2 separate regions of the Homo sapiens genome follow, and region 2 is linked to region 1. Evidence: promoter capture Hi-C in human tissues and cell types (Jung and others, 2019). All regions are on one chromosome and are shown on one strand. Each heading gives the region's core, a stretch centred on a gene start or on the middle of the fragment in contact. The rest is flanking DNA. Distances are from core to core; before and after follow the strand shown. Region 1 holds the start of NDN (necdin, MAGE family member). Region 2 overlaps LOC107984787 (a long non-coding RNA gene).

Region 1 (2,531 bases), core at 13-2,512:
CCTGCTTGAGGAAAAATAAAGTGGGAAAAGATACATACTCACAGTGAGGACTCTAGACATGTCAAGACAATTTTTAAATATGCTTTTGGCTTCGAGTGGCAATAACTAGATTCAAGACAGCATATTTAAGAAGCTGCTGATGAGAAGAAACCCGGGAAGAGCTGAAGGACCACATCAGCCCAGACCAAGGATGCTGAAGCAGCATTAAGGTCCCTGGTTTCAGATGCTCAGGCAATGACCCTTTTTTTCATGGAGAGCCTGTAGGAGTGACAGTTTTGTCTTTGCCCACTGGGAATCTGTTTTCCATACCTGGAAAACAGGGTTACCTATGTTTCCCCTGCTACCCTTTGGTCATCTCAGAGACACTACCAGATATTACCCATGGGACCTATTTTTTTTTTAAATCTCAGGAAAGACTTGGGTGTGGCTTCCAACGTGGAGGACTCAGTAGCTTCAGAGAGGGTCCTGAGAGAAGGTGAATTGAAGAATGAGGGTGCTGGGCAGAGGGAAAAGACATTATCATACAAGTTTGTGCTAAAAGATATAGCAATCCTTCTGCTATGGACTAAGTATGGAAAAAAATAAAATGGAATCAAAGTTACCCAAAGGAAGTGTAAAACCCAAATTTATGCCCGTTAAAGCATTAATGATGCTCTAAGTCCACTGCCTACTTAAAAAGTTCATAGTTCACATGGGTTGATAGGAAATTACGTTAACGACACACTGCATTTCCCCTTTTCTTATAGCCTATCTGATTTGGTAGGGAGTCGATCATTTTTTATTGGAATTTCTCAGGATTCCAACCTCAGACATCCACTTTACAGTTTACACATTTTCTTGGACAAGCCCGACTGTTCCTCTCACTGGTTCGCATAAAGCTCATGTTTACAAAGCCGCCCAGACCTTTCTCTGGGACTCTCATATTTAACTTAATTCTGGATATACCCAGGTAAGCGTTTCCCAAGAAACTTGACCCCAACATCCCAAAAACTTAAGGTATCTTTCCCTTAAACTGGCCCCTTCTCCAGTACGCATCCATCTCACTTCTCTCCTGCCCTAGATCTTCTCAGCCCAAACAGGAAACCCCGGGATCGCTCTCCCAGCAGGTGAAGCCTCGCCATGGACCCTCCCCGTCGGGGCCCCGCGCTGCCCCGCCCGCCCCCAGCCGCTGGCCAAGGCCGCGGTCGCGCAGGCGCAGTGCCGCGTCCCGCCGCCGCCCCGCCCTGCCCGTCGCTGCGGAAGGCGCCGCGCGCAGCAACGCGCACTTCCTCTCCAGGAATCCGCGGAGGGAGCGCAGGCTCGAAGAGCTCCTGGACGCAGAGGCCCTGCCCTTGCCAGACGGCGCAGACATGTCAGAACAAAGTAAGGATCTGAGCGACCCTAACTTTGCAGCCGAGGCCCCCAACTCCGAGGTGCACAGCAGCCCTGGGGTTTCGGAGGGGGTTCCTCCGTCCGCGACCCTGGCAGAGCCGCAGAGCCCTCCTCTAGGCCCGACGGCCGCTCCGCAGGCCGCGCCGCCTCCCCAGGCCCCGAACGACGAGGGCGACCCGAAGGCCCTGCAGCAGGCTGCGGAGGAGGGCCGCGCCCACCAGGCCCCGAGCGCGGCCCAGCCGGGCCCGGCACCGCCAGCCCCGGCGCAGCTGGTGCAGAAGGCGCACGAGCTCATGTGGTACGTGCTGGTCAAGGACCAGAAGAAGATGATCATCTGGTTTCCAGACATGGTGAAAGATGTCATCGGCAGCTACAAGAAGTGGTGCAGGAGCATCCTCCGGCGCACCAGCCTCATCCTCGCCCGGGTGTTCGGGCTGCACCTGAGGCTAACCAGCCTGCACACCATGGAGTTTGCGCTGGTCAAAGCGCTGGAGCCCGAGGAGCTGGACAGGGTGGCGCTGAGCAACCGCATGCCCATGACAGGCCTCCTGCTCATGATCCTGAGCCTCATCTACGTGAAGGGCCGCGGCGCCAGAGAGAGCGCCGTCTGGAACGTGCTGCGCATCCTGGGGCTGCGGCCCTGGAAGAAGCACTCCACCTTCGGGGACGTGCGGAAGCTCATCACTGAGGAGTTCGTCCAAATGAATTACCTGAAGTACCAGCGCGTCCCATACGTGGAGCCGCCCGAATACGAGTTCTTTTGGGGCTCCCGGGCCAGCCGCGAAATCACCAAGATGCAAATCATGGAGTTCCTGGCCAGGGTCTTTAAGAAAGACCCCCAGGCCTGGCCCTCCCGATACAGAGAAGCTCTGGAGGAGGCCAGAGCTCTGCGGGAGGCTAATCCCACTGCCCACTACCCTCGCAGCAGTGTCTCTGAGGACTAGCAAAGTCTGGAGGCAGATGAATGGTTTCTGACCCTCACCAGGGCTGTGGAAGGGTGGGGGTGGGTCATTATAGTATTCAGGATTTACAGTGCAGTATTCACGTGTAACTTTTAAGTTTTCAGTACAGTGCTTTTATACCTTTAATGCAATGTTGTATTCATTTGGGTACTATTGTGTAGTATTTAGGATGTATGCATGTTTGTTTATATGTAAGCT
Region 2 (2,531 bases), core at 18-2,517, 280 kb before region 1:
TAAAAACCTTATTTATCACCTTATTTATAAACTTTAAACTTATTTATCAACTAAAAACCTTATTTTGGCAAGTTAAAAAAATCAGCAAAAAAATGAATAATCCCATTAAAAAGTGGGCAAATGAACAGGTATCTTTCAAAAGATGACTTGTAAGTGATCAAAAACATACGAAAAAATGCTGAATGTCAGTATCAGGGAATGCAAATTAAAATCATAAGATATCACCTTACCCTAGTCAGAATGGCCATTATTCAACAGTCAATAAATAATAGCTATTGGTGAAGATAAGGTGAAAAGGGAATGTGCTTATACACCCTTGGTGGGAATGTAAATTAGTACAACCTGTATGGTAAACAGTATGAAGATTTCTCAATGAACTAAAAGCAGATCTAATATCCAATCCAGAAATCCCATTACTGGGTATACACTCGAATGAAAAGAAGTCAATATATCAAAAAGACATCTACACTTCTAGGTTAATCACAATAGATTTCACAACTGCAAAAATATTAAATGAATCTAAGTGCCCATCAACAAGCAGATAAAGTAAATGTGGTATATATGCATCACAAAATACATATATCACAAAATACATATATCACAAAATACATATATCACAAAATGAATATCACAAAATATATATCAATATATATCACAAAATATATATATCACTATACCACAAAATACTACTCAGCCATGTAAAAGAACAAAATAAAGTCTTTTGCAGCAATTTGGATGGAACTGGAGGCCATTATCCTAAGGGAAGTAACTCAGGAACAGAAAAACACTGCAGATTATCACTTATAAATGGGAGATAAGTTATGAATAAACATGTTTAATACTATGTTTTTCATAATATGGATAAACATGTTTAATACTATGCTTGAGAAGAAAATCAACACAGTTAACCTGGAGCAACTTGTAGTGCCACCAAGAAAGAAAAAGTGAATCAATAATACAACCAAATATACGAACAAAATCAAAGTGGGATCATGGACATTAGACTCAGAAAGGAGAAGGGTTAGCGGGGAGTGAGAAATGAAAAATCACCCATTGTGTCCGGAGTTGGTTCCTGCCTGTGGGTTCGTGGTCCCGCTGACTTCACAGCCGGGAACCCTCAGCAGTCGACCTTCGCAGTGAGTGTTATAGCTCTTAAAGATGGCACCGACTCAGCAGCGGACCTTCCCAGTGAGTGTTACAGCTCTTAAAGATGGCACGGACCCAAACAACAAGAGGTAGCAAGGTTAACAGTGAAGAGCAAAAACACAAAGCTTCCACACCCTCGAAAAGGACCGGACCAGCTTGCGGCTGCTGGGAGGAGGCCATTGTTTATTCCCGTATTGTCCCCTCCCATGTTCCGTTTCTGTCCTATCAGAGTGCCCTTTTTTCAATCCTCCCCACTATTGGCTACTTTTAGAATCCTGCTGATTGGTGCGTTTTACAGAGCACTGATTGGTGCATTTTACAGAGCGGTGATTGGTGCGTTTTACAAACCTCTTGCAAGACACAAAAGTTCCTGATTGGTGCATTTTACAATCCTCTTGTAAGAAAAGTTCCCCAAGTCCCCACTTGACCCAGGAAGTCCAGCTGGCTTCACCTCTCACTATGAGGTAAAATATACACTCTTCAGGTCACAGGTACACTAAAAACCCCAGACTTCACTACTATACAATTCATTCATGCAACCCAAAACCACTTATAATCCTAAACCTACAATTTTTTTTAAAAAGCAGTGGTGCATGATTCCCCCACTTTTAAGTGTGTGTTGTATATAGTGACTTTTTTTCATGCATACAACATGAAAAGGGGGGAAAGGAGTAATTTTTTTTTTTTTTTTTTTTTGAGACGGAGTCTCGCTCTGTCGCCCAGGCTGGAGTGCAGTGGCGGGATCTCGGCTCACTGCAAGCTCCGTCTCCCGGGTTCACGCCATTCTCCTGCCTCAGCCTCCCAAGTAGCTGGGACTACAGGCGCCCGCCACTACGCCCGGCTAATTTTTTGTATTTTTAGTAGAGACGGGGTTTCACCGTTTTAGCCGGGATGGTCTCGATCTCCTGACCTCGTGATCCGCCCGCCTCGGCCTCCCAAAGTGCTGGGATTACAGGCGTGAGCCACCACGCCCGGCCGGAGTAATTTTACAAAAGAGACTTGTTAGTAACTACCTCATCCAGGTTATCAAATTAACATCAACAGTGATTAAAGCCAGTTGATACCCTGTGCCCGGGATATTATGTGATGAGAATGGCACATTTCCTCTGTGATCTTCCTCCCCTAAACCCACAAATCCAGTCTCTTCATGAGAGAAACATCAGGGAAACCACAAATTAGAAATGTCAATCCCATCAAAAACAATAAAACTCTGAGATATTATCACATTCAGAAGATCCTAAAAATACATGATACCTAAATGTCATGAGGTATCCTGGATGAGATCCTAAAACGTAAACATAACATTAAGTGACAACTAAGAAATCTGAATAAAGTGTAGATGGTACTTAATGATAATCCATGATATTGGCTGGTTAATTTGACAA

The links. The method cuts DNA at HindIII sites, captures the fragments that hold promoters and counts their contacts. A contact is called where the count stands out against the background at its distance.
Region 2: a fragment that was not itself captured here is called in contact with the fragment with the promoter of NDN in region 1 in 4 of the 25 tissues and cell types used here (H1 embryonic stem cells, mesenchymal stem cells, mesendoderm cells and 1 more).

The regions. Positions count from the first base shown.
Region 1 is chr15:23,686,036-23,688,566 of GRCh38, reverse strand. It overlaps NDN (necdin, MAGE family member), which reads left to right and starts at 1,262. Exons shown (of 1, transcript NM_002487.3): 1 at 1,262-2,531. The coding sequence starts at 1,350. The coding sequence ends at 2,315. The HindIII fragment of the contact is 8,447 bases long and covers 1-2,531 here.
Region 2 is chr15:23,961,514-23,964,044 of GRCh38, reverse strand. The region is part of intron 1 of LOC107984787 (a long non-coding RNA gene); the gene reads right to left. Among named protein-coding and RNA genes, the nearest start is that of PWRN4, 12 kb to the left of the region's middle. The HindIII fragment of the contact is 7,761 bases long and covers 1-2,531 here.